Regions from separate parts of the Homo sapiens genome. Here region 2 is linked to region 1. Evidence: promoter capture Hi-C in 16 types of primary human blood cells and fetal thymus (Javierre and others, 2016). All regions are on one chromosome and are shown on one strand. Each heading gives the region's core, a stretch centred on a gene start or on the middle of the fragment in contact. The rest is flanking DNA. Distances are from core to core; before and after follow the strand shown.

Region 1 (7,169 bases), core at 2,555-5,054:
CAGGTTGATCTTGAACTCCTGGGCTCAAGCAATCCGCCCACCTTGGCCTCCCAAAGTGCTAGGATTACAGGCAGGAGCCACCGTGCACAGCCTGAGATTTTATTTTCAAAGTGAACTGTTGCAGGATTGATTCCAACAGCCCTTCCCACTGGAGCCAATCACACCAGAGTTGATGAGGGAAGGGAAGAGTTAGTGGAGAGGCCTCAGCCAAGAGGCTCAAAATCAACGCAAGGAAGATGAGGACTGAAAAGCAGCTTGGAGATTTCAGCCAGGTGGAGGTGGAGGAATAGAAGCCAGATTGAGGTAGGATGAGTGTAGGGAGTGATAAGGAAATGGAGACTGAATTTTCAAGAGGTTTGGCTAAGAAGAAGAAAAGATAAACAGGGTATCAAGTGGAGGAGGACGTGGGGTCAAAGAAGGGGTTTGTTTTTGTTTTAAGGCTAATACGAGCATGTTTCAGAGCTGACAGGAAGAGCTGAAAGGTTAGGAGGCGGGGGCTGATGGATGTCTCAGGTGTCTGATAGGAGGGGAGGGGTGGAATCCTCATCTAGAGAGTGGCTGGAGAGAAAAGACAGACGCCTCTTCCGCGGCGAGTGGCAGGAGGAGCAGTGGGCAGAAGGGCAGCTGTGGATGGGGGCGGATGTGCTGGCAGGCAGGAGGGCGTTCTTATGTTGATAGACATAAGCCACCTAAAGCCATGGCTTCCAGATCCTCAGCAGCTGAGCTGCTGAGAGGTGTGCAGCAGTCTGGAGAGGGCAGGATGTGGCCGTTGAGAGTGTGGACAGAGTGACAGAGCAGCAGTTCCCAAACCCGAGTGTGCATCAGAATCACTAAGGGCTTGGTGGGCACAGAACACACCCTGAGTTTCGGAATAGACATAGAAAGGGTTTGCCTTCCTAACAAGTTCCCAGGTGCTGCTGGGGCTGCTGGCCGAGGTCCTTGCTTGGAGAATGACTGGTTAAAGAAGCCACAGCTGTCCCACCCTGCAGCTCCAAGGGGACCGCTTTGCATGGCTGCCACCATGCCCCTCCAAGAGGAGGTAGCATGCTGGTCCCAAGGGGCATGATGGTATCACTTTCACCAACAGAACTTAGCAGTCCCTGAGCAGAACCTGGAACCAGAAAGGGGGACAGGAGAAGCTCTGCCACTTGGGTAAGATGCAAGAACAGAACAAAGAGGATTCAGGTGCTGGCAGGAATGGCTGTTGGACTGAGCTGAGGGCTCCTGGCCCAGAGTCACTCTCCTCACTCCCAGTGCGGACTCTCATTTCCCTGTCACTTGTCCACACCCTGTGTCTTTCCAGTTCCCACCCAAATCTCCTGTCTTGCATGGAGCCTGGGCTGCACCACGACCGCATTCACCCTGCTGTCCTTCCCTGAGTCCACAAAACTCAGTATGCGACATGGACCTCCCGCAGCCTCCTGGCTCCCCTTGGATTATTGACTGGCTATACTGTACTCCATCAAATATAAGATGCTATCACTTGTGAAAGACATTACTTAATCACTGCCAATTATAATTGTAAAAGATATCTTGATTCTCAAGATGTTAAAATGTGAAGAAATGTGTTTCTTAGAATCCATGGAATATGGATTCTTGAGCATCTGAACAGGTGATCTGCAGAGCATGGTGCCCCCCAAGACCCATTCAGGGGGGTCTCCAAGGTCAAAACTATTTTTTGCAACAATATAAGTCATTATTTGCCCTTTTCACTCTCATTCTCTCATTAGCGTGCAGTGGGGTTTTCCAGAGACTACATGTGTGATGACATCGCTTTGATGCCCAATGGAATATATGTATTCTTGTGTCTTAAAACTTTCTGAGTTTTAGTTTCTAATATGGTAAATGTTGATAGACATAAGCCACCTAAACAAAAGCTCTTGGGGTCCTGAAACCAAAAAATTTAGGAATCACTGCACTAGGTTGTACGCCCAGCACTTGGCCGGCATTGAGTCCATGGTCAAGCGTAAGGAGAGGCCCGAGGGGGATGTGCACAGTGCTGAAGGTGCACAGGAAAGGGACTTATCCCAGCCGGTCTGGGAAGGCCTTCCAGGGGAAGTGGGGTGCTCGCCTGCCAATCTCAGGCATGTGGATGCTTCACCCAGGTGGCCCTGTCTTGCTGACCAGAGATTTGTGCCAAACCAGCTCTGCGACCCTGGGTTTAGTCATGCTACCTTCTATCACTATTAACATGAGGCTAATGTGTAGGTCACAGAGGCTGTGATGAAAATTAAATAATTGAATGCACGTGAAAGAATGCCACTCATAGAAGGTTTCACATGACCACATCCTTGGTGGCTGGGTTGTGTCTTGGGCATCTCTGTTTTCTGCCACAGAGCTTAACACAATGCTTGGCACACAGGGGTGCTTGGAAAACACTGAGTGAAGGAATGCATGTTGGGGGTGTGGCCTAAGCAAGACGTGGAGCTTGCCTTCTCCAGACACCAGGTTTCCCATGGGATCTGGAGCAGGTGATGAGCGGTAGTCCATAACACCTTCCTCTCTGGCTCTGTGCCAAACCAGATTCCTCCTCGTCTCCTCCAAACCATCTGTCTTCTTCCACCTCCCCATTCCCTCCCCCCAGTTCCCCAGGCTGGTGGCCTTAGCATCAGTTAGACTTTCTTCTTTCCCCACCTGTCTGTCCTCAAGGTTGCTAGGTTCATCCAAGATCTGAGCCAAGAGGTCCGGGTCTGGGACGTGGGCGCTAAGGGCCCAAGGCAGCTGCAAAAGACCTGAAAGGTGAGAAGAGAGATCAGTGGAGGACCCCGGACTGTCCTCAAGAAGCGGACGGACTCCCCTGCCCTCCACTGGCAGCCCAACAGCAGAACCAAAGCGGACCACTCAGCACAACCTGTGTGTGTTGCTGGGCGCTGTCCCTGGCCCAGTCTGGACCAGGAGCAAAGAGGAAAGATTCAGGGCGTTAGTGCCAAGAGCAGCCATCCCAGCAACAGAAGCCCCTGCTTCCCCAGTACCCGTGATACTTGGGAGGAGCAGAGTCTTGAGTGGAACCCGAGCCTCTGACACCCGCCCTGGGGGTCTTCCCTCCACTCTCGCCAGGGTCCTCCTGGATGAGTGAGACAAGGGCAGTTCAGGAGGTCACCCAATAACTGAGGTCGCAGCAACACGAAGGAGCCAGGGAGCAGGGGCGGCCTTCCCTTCTCCACTCCAGGCGGCTCCAGCGTGCACCCCAGGACCCCCCAGGAAGGTTTTGCAGGAATAAAGAATGAAGGCAGAAGCAAGATGGAGGATGAAGGAGGCGTGGATGGCTTCAGAAGGCAAGACGGAGGCAGCAGTTTGGCGCCTGTCTCAAAGCCTCCTCCCCGCGCCAAGGACAGGTCGGAGGAGGGGGGCGTGGGGACAGGTAGAGCGGAGGCTCCAGCGTTTCTAAAGGGGAAGACCTGAAGTGGGGCAGGAGAGACGGGTGAGTTGTCTGGAAGCTGCATTTGCCTGGCAAACACTGGGTTAACAAAGACTTGCGTTGCGGGGATGCTGGCCTTGGACAGGGAATGCGAAGGGATTATGCTACGGAGAACGGATCCGAGCGTGACGGCTGAATGAATGAGTGAGCGAGTGAGTGAGTGAGTGAGTGAGCGAGCGAGTGAGTGACTGTGCGAGCGAGCGGCAGAAGGAACTCCGACCCGCCCCAGGTGCGGAGCGGCGCGCCCGGCAGGGGTCACTGCGGGCCCCGCGGGCGGGAAGGGGGCGCAGGCGCGGCGGGCGCCGGGGCCCTCCCGCGGGGACGGGGCGGGGAGGGCTGGGGGTGGGGTTAGAGAGAGGGACGCGAGCGGGATCCAAACTTCCGGTGCCTGCAGAGCTCGGAGCGGCGGAGGCAGAGACCGAGGCTGCACCGGCAGAGGCTGCGGGGCGGACGCGCGGGCCGGCGCAGCCATGGTGAAGATTAGCTTCCAGCCCGCCGTGGCTGGCATCAAGGGCGACAAGGCTGACAAGGCGTCGGCGTCGGCCCCTGCGCCGGCCTCGGCCACCGAGATCCTGCTGACGCCGGCTAGGGTGAGAGGGTCTGGGGCTCAGGCGGTGGGGCGGGGGACCCAGGCTCACGACCCAGGCGCGCCCCGTCGGCCCTGGGGACTGCCCGAGGCGCGTCAGGGCCCCAGAGCCCGGGGTGGAGCAGGGTTGGGAAGTCTCGAATGGTTGCTTATCCCAGAATGAGGAGGGGGCTTAAGTCCCGTACTAAAGCGGCAGCCAAAAGCTGAAGTCCGAAGAGTGGGAGGCGTCTGGTTCTGGTCTTCAGGTGGAGAAGTGCTCGAGGTCTCTTCCAAAAGTGGGGGCCCCCTCGCCGCCTTATAGGGGGAGGGGGCTGGTCCGAAGAAGTTCGAGGAATGTTGGTGGGGGGGTACGCGTCTGGTTCCAATCAACTGGGAAAGCCGCGAGTCGAGTCCCCAGGTGGGGGATGGGAGGAGGGTTAGACGTAGTTTTTCCAAAGTAGGGCGGTGGGACCTGATTGGCTGGGGAATTGGGGGTGGGGGGGTCTGGTACCAACGAAGAGGGTGGGGCCGTTGATTTCCTCCGAAATTGGGGGCTGCGAGGGACAGAGGATGTGCTGCTGGCCTGCACCGGAATTGACAGACCAGAAAGTGATGAAATGGAAATCAGCCAGAACCGACGGCGCTGCGGCCTCTGGACGTCGGGGGTCCGAGGCCGGGTGCCCCCTTCCCACCCCACGCCCTGCCGTCTGGGCCTCCCTGCTCCCCTCTCTTTTCTCCATTCCCAGCCTCTCGCTGGGCTGTCCCCCGACCCCACGGGGAGGGCTCCCAACTGCCCCAGTGCCCTTGCATCCTGGGTCCCCGGGCTCTGTGCGCGTTCCCCCACCCCTGTCATCCCCCTCCCCTACCCCGGCTTCCTCCACTTTCCCTCTGGCCGGGGGGGAGAGAAGGCATTTCCGCCGTGGAAAACTGTCTGAGCTGCGTGCCTTGTGTCCGGGAAGGGCCCGCAGGGGGCAGAACGCGTGGCGGGCAGGGACAGGGAGGGAGGGAGAGCTGGCCCAGCCAGGTTTTATTGTGCCTGGCAAAGGTGTCTACGTGGGCGCCGCCCCCAGCGGTCTTGTGGCTTACCAAGCCCATGTCCTCCCCGCCTCCCCACCCCGCATTGAGGCAGGACTGAGAAAGTCTTTGTCCACTGCTTCCCCACTTCCAGATGCAGGCTTCTGAAGAGTCTTCCTGAACGCCTAGCCCCCTCCCCAGGTTTTGTGGCTCAGGTTCAGTCTTGCCTGGGGCATTAAGGGGCCTGCAGAGGATGACCTGGACCCTGGAGGAGGGGGCGCCGGAGAGGGCCGTCAGAGTTGGGTGTCAGCCTGGGCAGAGACCCTGAGTGAGGAATGCCAGGAGACTGAGAACCCCCTGCCCTTTTATGGTGGTCACTGCAGCAACCAGTGGCTCAGAGCCACAAGAGTTCAACAACCACCTAGGCGAGGTTGGGGGTTGCTGTGCACCCCATGAGAGCAGCTCCCCCCTTTTCATCTGAAGCTTAGGTGGAGGGGGCGCTCCATATTTGAAGAAGATGGTTCTGCAGCTTTAAAAGTTTGCAAGGGGTTCTTCAAGACTCCTTTTCTTTGGAAGGGAAGCTGCCCTCCACTCAGCCTGGGGAGGGGCAGGGATGGGGGCAGGAGGCAGCACGCTTGCCCATCTCTTTTCCTAGCCACCTCTTCCTGGAGATATTTGAGGAGGGAGGACCAGGTCAGACAGTGGGAGGGTGTTATTCCAACTCCATCAGAAGGTCCCCCAGATTTTGCAGGAGCGGCACATTCTCCAGCCGCAGCCTGCTGATGGCATGGGTTTGGGCAGTCTGACAGAGACCTGCATCTCGGGGCATAACTGACATCCTAGCTTCTGGCTTCTCATCAGGCTCTGAAATTGAGCGTCCTTTCTTCCCCCTCACCCAGCATGAAATGGAAATATCAACATCTTCCTGCGTGCTGTTTGTAATGGCCTTGAGCCTGCTGAGTACCTCCTCCCTCAAACTTTGTCAGTTGGGCAGGGTCCCCTCCCTCTCTAATTGGCAAGGGGGAGCTTAGGACTATGCGATCTGGGGAAAGAATTAGAATCCTGGCATCTTTAGGACAGAACTGCATGTTAGTAAACTTTCACAGCTTCCCAAGGCCCTGGCGTGGTGCAGAGGGACTTTAGGTGTTGCAAGTTGGCTCTGCCCATCACCTGCTAGATTTGGAGCCTTGGAAACAGTTCACTTCTGCGGGCCTCCTGTTGCCCCACTTGGCCAACCCGCACATTTCCTCCTTACCCAGTTTCTGGCAAGGAGCCAGGCCTCGTCTCCTGCCCCCAGCAGTGAGCAGGCAGGAGGCCCATTTCTCAGCTGTAGCTCTGTGAGCCGAGGGATGGCAGCCAGGAGGCTGCTTTCTCAGGGCAGGGCGTGTAGATTTTGTCCCGTACTGTTGGGAATGCCCAGGAAAGCTTATTAAAACGTTTCTTCTGGCTGGCAGTGACCCCAGAACCCTCCTTGGTGTCTGAACTGGACTCCAAAACAAGATTTATTTTATTTTATCTATTTTATTTTATTTTATTTTTTTTTTTGAGACAGAGTCTCACTTTTACCCAGGCTAGAGTTCCGTGGCACGATCTTGGCTCATTGCAACCTTCACTTCCAGGTTCAAGTGATTCTCCTGCCTCAGCCTCCCAAGTAGCTGGGAATAAAGGCACCTGCCACCATGCCCGGCTAATTTTTGTATTTTTAGTAGAGACAGGGTTTCACCATGTTGGCCAGACTGGTCTCAAATTCCTGACCTCAGGTGATCTTCCCACCTCAGCCTCCCAAATTGTTGGGATTACAGGTGTCAGCCACCACACCCGGCCCAAAACAAGATGTAAAAAGTGATCCGCAGGAGGAGCACTCGGTGAACAGATGATTGTGCGGTGAACAGATGATTGTGCGTTGGGGCAGTTCTTGACCTGTGTCCAGGCCCAGAGTGAGGGCGGGGTGGGGGCAGGGTGAGGCGGCAGGAGCACCCTCTCGGTGGGCACTGCCCCTGCTTCTGAGCAAAAACTGCAACACAAGGAGGATTTTGTCTGTGGACCTGAGACTGGAAGGAAGTGCCTCAGTGGGCCAGGGAGGGATGGGGGTGGGGGCCAGCTGGGCTTCCAGCTGCCCGGCCTCCCCCCCTGGTGTTTTGACTCTGAGATAATGAGGAGCTGGGACACTGC
Region 2 (7,169 bases), core at 1,797-4,296, 190 kb after region 1:
TGAAGACAGTCCCACCATCCTGGAGGAGAAAGTCGTGCTCCTGTTGGTTCTGATCATGCTCCTGGCTGGCTGTGAAGAGTGGACTGAAGCCTTCTGGGGCTGTAAGCAGGAAGTCAAGGCTGTAGGAGGCTGTCGTGGTCTGGAAAGAAGAAGGAGAGGCAACTATTGGGTAATGGAGTGAGGATGGGAGAGGTCGGTGTGAGAGATTAAAGAGGAGATCTGGTGCTGACTGTTGTGGGAGAAGAGAACAGTCAGATTTCCGTTGCAGTGGCTGATGGATGTCCTTCACCCACACTGAGGTCAAGGAAGGAAACACACAACTGTGGGACGACAACAGCGTGCACAACTTTGAGGTCACTGAGTTGAAGGAGCCTATGACTCTGCCAAGCAGAGATGCCCAGGAAGTGTGTGAGTCTGTGCTCAGGAGAAAGCGCAGGGCAGTAGAGACACATTTTATGAGCCACCACCTTGTGCACAGCAGCCAATGGCATTTCACTCTTACAGGGGTTGCAGGGAGTGAGAAGAAGGCCATGGACAGAAACACAGAAGAAAGACACATAAAAAAAATAGAATCCAAGATGGGGACTGAAGATTTGAAGGAGCAGAAGTAATCAGAGTTGAGTTTCGAAAAGATTGCTCTGGCTAAAGAATGCAGAATGGACTGGAGAGGGAGAAGCCACAGGCATGGGCCAGTCACTCAGGAGGGAGAACAGAATCCTCCCGGGGGGAGAAGTCTGATGTCTGTGTCCAAGCTACTTACCTTTTGCCCATCTCACAGGTTCACGTGAGGCTCACATGGGGTTGTGGCAATGACACACACAGCATCCAAGTGGAAGACAGGATTGTCCTCTCATACAGAATGACTTCTCCTTGAAGAGCAGAGGTGGCATGTTGACCACCTCTCTGTTTTAAAACATGTTGAATTAGTAGCCAACATGTAAAATTCTGGAGATGTTGCATGAAATTCTGATTTCTGGCTTCTCTTAGAAAAAACATGTCTTCCAACAGTCACCCTGCATTCTTGGCAGGAACTGAGTAGCAGTTGCTCTGTTTAGCAGTTGCTCTCTTTAGATGGGGCACTCACTTTTTTTTTTTTTCTTTTTAGACGGAGTCTCACTCTGTCGCCAGGCTGGAGTGCAATGGTGTGATCTTGGCTCACTGCAACCTCCACCTCCTGGGTTCAAGCGATTCTTCTGCCTCAGCCTTCTGAGTAGCTGGGACTACGAGTGCCCGCCACCACACCTGGCTAATTTTTGTTTTTAGTAGAGACGGGGTTTCATCATGTTGGCCAGGCTTTGGTCTCGAACTCCTGACCTCAGGTGATCCGCCCACCTCGGCCTCCCAAAGTGCTGGGATTACAGGTGTAAGCCACCGCGCCCGGCCAGGAATTCACTCTTCATCACTGTCCCCACCACCCCCTAGTGCCTCCTTGACACTGTTAGTTGCCATTCACCATCCTGTGGAGCTTGTATTTTCTTTCGCTGGTCCTGCTTTACTCATTTTCATTACCTGTTGGCATTTGTTTGTGACTCCTCTAGGGGTTTGGGGAATACAACTGTCTTCATGTGAGGGCTTGGTAGAAGTGCCTCTGTAGAGCCAGGTGCAGTGACTCACATCTTTAATCCCAGCATTTTGGGAGGCCGAGGCGGGCGGATCATGAGGTCAGGAGATCGAGACCATCCTAGCTAACATGGTGAAACCCTGTCTCTACTAAAAATACAAAAATTAGCCGGGTGTGGTGGCATACACCTGTAGTCCCAGCTACTTGGGAGACTGAGCAGGAGAATCGCTTGAACCCAGGAGGCGGAGGTTGCAGTGAGCCGAGATCGCGCCATTGCCCTACAGCCTGGGTGGCAGAGGGACACTCCATCTCAAAAAAAAAAAAAAAGAAGTACCTCTGTAGAATGACACCCCAAGTAATCTGTTTACTTTGCATGCACATCTTCTCGAGCCCTGCCTTTCAATCTGAGCCACAGGCTCTTCAAAAATGTTCAATAATTATATTTAATATATTTTAAACAACCACAGTTTAAGAATTCTAATTTAAACAAAAAAAGTCACAGATACAACAAAATGTGTTATCAAGCACATTTAATTCACTGGCAACCACAAGACATTGATTGTGCCCCTAGGTTACGTAGAAGGCCGTAGAAATGAACTCGCCATCGCTGTGCGATTGAAGAGTTTAGCTTGATAGTGCAAGGCCGGTGGCTGAAAAAAATGCTACCGTTTGCCCTATTCCTTGTCAAGACTTTCTCAGTACTGACTCTTGAAATAAATTGACTTCTTGAAGCTAGCATAAGACTGCAAATGGCCATTGCAACTGCCATTTCAAATTTCTGAAGATGTATTAGAAACGAAGAACCCACTGCCGTCGGGGGAAAGAGGACCTGGGCAGATAGAAGGAAAGAATGGAAGACATTTTTTCTCCCTTGGAAAGGCTTTCGCCATATAACTACTGCACATTTTAATATATTGACAACACTGGACATTTTTCCAAAAGTAAGTAAAAACCTTCATTGTTCAACTTTATAATAAGCCAATGATTACTTGTGGATTCATTATGATAATAAAGCACTTCTATGGGGATTTTCTTTTTTTTATGATAGGTTTTGCTTTAGAAAACAATTGAAAGCCACTTTTCTGGGAAAAAAAACAAAAAACAAAAAAAAACGCTGTTTGCGGCAGCCCCAATTCCCTAAGCATTATCTGGTGGGAGATGTGTTGCAGCGAGACCTCCCACCAGTAGGTGGCACTGCGCGCAATGCTCGCACCTCCCCTCAACACCCTTTCTCTCAGCAATGGCGGGTGATGGTGGGGGTCCTCTCTTTGCAGGGCTGGCCATTCTAATGCCTGACCTCAGGTGCAGACCAGTGTTCCGTTGCGCGGGACTCCTGACCTCGAGGAGGTTTAGAGAAAACAATGGTGTTCTCTGTGTACCCTTCCGCGAGGGCTGGGGAGTATACCGCCGCGCAGAAGACGCAGGCCAGGGGAGAATTCGCGCCGGGCGGCAGGCGGGGTGGCGGGCAGCCCCTGGGCGGGCGGGGTCCTGGCGAGAAGCGAGCCGGCGGCCTGAGGAGGCGACTGACTGAGCAGCGCACCCGGGGAGCAAGGAGGCGCGGTGAACTGAGCGGCCCCTGAGCTGACAGATACACTGCGCAGCTGGAACGGCGAGCGAGCCGACGGGCGAGTGAGGGGCGCAGCCATGATCACCTCGGCCGGTGAGTGCGGCCCGTAGCCAGCGCCTGGAGGGAGGAGCCGCCGCCGCGCCGGCTTTTAGCTGAGTCAGGGCCGGTGACTGGGCGCCTCCCGGCGGAACGCCGGCCTGGGCAGCTTCTTGCTGCCCAGGGCCCACCCCCGGGCCGGGGGGCTGGGAGTCTGATCAGGTCACTGCGTGCTTCTCTGGCTTGAGGGAATCGAGCCGGGTCGACCGCCTCGGCATCCCTCCCCAATCACACCCCAGCGCCAGGACCCGAGGGGCTTCCTGGGCCTTCCCCTGACCCCAGAAGGGCTTACCTTTTTTCTGTGCCTCCCATTCTTGGCCGTGTGAGGTCGTCCAGCCCCAGTTCTTGCCCGCAGGGGGCCGGGGTGGGATGGGCCCCTGTGCCATTGAACAGTAAGGCAAACCCCCCTGATCGGGCAGCCTAACTGCTACAGAAGTGTTTCTGGACGTGGCCGAGCTCCATTCGCCTTAGAATGAAACCCGAAATTAGGTTTGAGGTGGGTCATTTCTGGGTCCGATCCAAGGGTGTTCATTCAAAACACCCAGAGAACTTTTGGGTTCGGCGAAGACCCTAAAGACGCCCTGGAGATACCTTTATACTGAGAGCCTACTTATACCCTTTCGAGGTTATGTGCTCAGTCTGTTGACTGTACATTCAAGAAAGAATGGATGGATCTGCGGAGCAGGTTTCATACGCGCAAACCATTGCATAGGTAGATTCACGTAGTGACATTTGCAATGGAGTAAGTTACAGAGATCAAGTTTCAATTGGAGACTTAAGCTCCCCGTTACAGATTGACTTGCATATAGCTGTCCAGAGCCTTGGTGCTTTTTTCCGTTGCCTATTTACATACCCTTTTCTCATTTTCTTACTCTGTGTTTGACCCACAAAGAAAGCATTTTATTGTAAACAAACTGGTGAGCAGAAGACAGTAATCTGAATGGTAAGGCGATCAAAACTTTATTTTTATGAGGATTGGTTAAGGAGATCGTTGGAGATACTGGGAGACGTAGTTACTTTCAAACATTTGAAGAGCTGTCACTTGTACCTGAAATAAGACTTTTTGTCCCCAAGAGATACAAGTGATCGCGAGATGAATTTTAGTTCAGTATCAGGAAGTTTTTCCAGTCAGAGCTTTGTAAAGATCAAATAAACACTCAGTTTCTTGCCACCTATAGGCCTCATTCTATTTCAAATCCATCCATTACCAATGTTTCTTCTAACTCGGCCCAAACCACCTTCATCTCTTGTCTGGGTTACTATATCAGCCTTAAGGCTTTGTTTTCGACCATTACCTCCGTACAGCCCGTTTTTCTTGTGGACTATGCTTTTTAAAACTTTAATCACATAATACTTCTTTGCTTACAATCCACCAGTGCTTACATTGTGTTTAGAGCAGCCGTGTCCAACCCTTTGAATTCGAGGACTTTTTTTCTTACTGTGGTGGTCGGACATCGTGAAAATTATATACAAACCTTTTTTTTTTTTTTTAAGCTCATTAGCTATCATTAGTGTTAGTGTATTTTATGTATGCCCCAAGATACTTCTTCCATTGTGGCCCAGGGGAGCCAAAAGGTTGGACACCCCTGGCATACAGTAAAATCCAGACTCTTAACCAAGGACCCACATGATCTGATTCCCGCCTTGTCTTGTAGTACTGTCTTCACTCAATACATCCTAATCACACTGGACTTTTTGTTCCTTGGATATGTCAGTTTCTCTCCTATCTCGGGGCCCTGGCACATTCTGTTCCTTTCTAGTCTTCTCTTCCTCAGATTTTCCCTTAGCTTCTCAATCTTTTGTCTCAACTCAAATGTTATCCTTCCCTGATCATTCTATTAAAACACGCTTACTCTCCCTCCACCACAGCTCTGTAATTGCCTTGTTTGTTTACTTGCCTGATCACTGTCTCTCTCTCTCTCTCTGGTAGAATTTTGAGCAGGAAGCTTGTTTTCACAATTCTAGAATACTGCTGAGAGCATGGCAGAAATTCAAAAGTATGTCTTGACTGAAGAGCTCAGTCAGCCAGTCAAAGCAATTAATCAGTCCCTTGAGTTTTTAAAGTAGAGGCGGAAAAAGCACTTGGTGACAATATAATAGACTTTAAGCCTCTTTAAGGTGGCAAAACTAATAATTTTTGAGGTCCTATCCTGAGATTCTGTGATGATCATATAGTGTATATTTATTACTGCCATTTAAGTTTATTGGATTACTTGTCAACTTCTGTTCCAAATCTTTTGTCACTTTGTTTTCTGTCCTATGGCTCATGTTGGCTTAGAATTTGTCCCAGGTGCTAAACAGGCTAGTCTCATGGTTCTGGTGTGGATTAGTCAGTTTGTTCATTCATTTATTGACCAGGCAGTTGCTAGGCATCACCATACAGTGGTGAATAAGAGGTCAACATGTTCTATTAGTTTTTTCCAAGAGGTTTGACTATGCAGGGGAATGGAGAGAGAGAGAGAGGTGCTTCCAGGCGGGAGATGTGAAATTGAGTGGGTTGGTGTTTTCTTTTTTAAACATAATACAGACACATAAAGGAAAGTTGTGCTAAAAAGCTTTAAAACAATAGTCCCCCACCTCACTTTCCCTTTCCTGATCCCCAGAGGCAGGTATTCCCAACTTTTAAGCTGTGTCTTCTGGAACATACCTCCGTATTTGTAAATAAATATCCAAATATTTCTGTCAATTGATTCAACAGTTTTAGACCAATATCTGCTCAGTTCCTATAACGGCATAAGAGGCTTTTAGCATCCTTAGGCCTTTCCCATTCTCTCCCCTCTCCAGAAGAGAGTTCTGTTTTGTTTTTAAGATGGGAAATACTAATGTATGGAGTGTAGAGTATTTGATTTAGTTCTGGTCCATGGCCAGAGGCTGAGTTTCCAAGCCAGGACAACCATGTAACCAGTTAGTCATAAGTGAAACCAAACCAGAGAATATAAAAATCCATCTCCCTTTTTGGTAAAAGCCGTTCAAATACATTGACTGAGGATAGGTAGCAGTTTTAGTATTAAGTGTTCTGTTATTTAAGATCTGTTCTACATTTAAAGCATTCTGGCCTGTCATCTTACTCCACATCACTAGTTTGCAATTTTTTCTTTTTCACTGATTGAATTTTGAAATTTATCTGTTCCCTGTGCTGTCCATTCAGAATCTCTGTTCTGGACTTGTCATACCAACCTAGAGTACCAAGAGGTTCTTTATATCTGCTTTTATGCTACTTTAGTTTTGCTTGGTAAATTTTGTATCTTTTCCTGTGTGGCTTCCTAAAGATTGCTTAAGCTATTTGGCAAACCTATACTTGTCAATTAGAAATGGCTACATCTAACTAAGTTGCCTTGACACTTTTTAATCAAACCACAGTTTCAACTCGGTGTTCTGGAATGATTTTAAAACCCACATGGAAAGCATTTGAGAGTGGTTTCCTTTGTGGTCTTAGTACAATAATTTCCCATATCATTTTTCCAATAATCCCTTTGACCTTTGACTATATTTCAAGGTGTGTTCTTTTGGAGAGGACAATTATTCCTTTTACTCTCCTATGTTAGTGGTAATACCTTGAGGCTAAGAGAAGCCATATGGAGAACACTGTGCTTGGGTAATTGAATTCAGAATGAGTATGATTGTTCATCATTTGGTAAAACCCAGGTTACTTGTGATAGGAAAGAGGTGCCATAATATACACACCTTGAAATAATTGAAGTATTTTACCTTGTTGATTTGATGACTAAATGCTCCCATTTTTGTAAATAATCTTATAACTGTTGATTTATTTTGTATGAATAATTTTATTCTAAAATTGTATAGGAAAGTTTCCCATTTTAATCAGTAAATTAGGCCAATGGTTCTCAAACTATAGAGAGCAAAAGAATCACAGTACTGGGCCCCATCCTCATAATTTGTGATTCAGTAGGTCTGGAATGGGGCCGAGAATGTGTATTTCTAACA

What was found. The method cuts DNA at HindIII sites, captures the fragments that hold promoters and counts their contacts. A CHiCAGO score of 5 or more calls a contact.
Region 2: a contact is called between the fragment with the promoter of PSMD1 here and the fragment with the promoter of ITM2C in region 1, in 2 of 17 cell types (M1 macrophages and fetal thymus). The highest score is 6.1, in M1 macrophages.

What each region holds. Positions count from the first base shown.
Region 1 is chr2:230,861,138-230,868,306 of GRCh38, forward strand. It overlaps ITM2C (integral membrane protein 2C), which reads left to right and starts at 3,805. Exons shown (of 6, transcript NM_030926.6): 1 at 3,805-4,008. The coding sequence starts at 3,889. RefSeq lists enhancers at 753-1,363, 2,489-3,147, 3,806-4,464, 4,465-5,121 and silencers at 3,555-3,924, 4,025-4,114, 4,905-5,004. The HindIII fragment of the contact is 7,451 bases long and covers 1-5,478 here.
Region 2 is chr2:231,053,821-231,060,989 of GRCh38, forward strand. PSMD1 (proteasome 26S subunit, non-ATPase 1) reads left to right here and starts at 3,047. Exons shown (of 25, transcript NM_002807.4): 1 at 3,047-3,221. The coding sequence starts at 3,206. LOC112268432 (a long non-coding RNA gene) reads right to left here and starts at 3,926. Exons shown (of 2, transcript XR_002959456.2): 1 at 3,517-3,926; 2 at 1-139. RefSeq lists a silencer at 2,948-3,137. The HindIII fragment of the contact is 9,212 bases long and covers 1-5,168 here.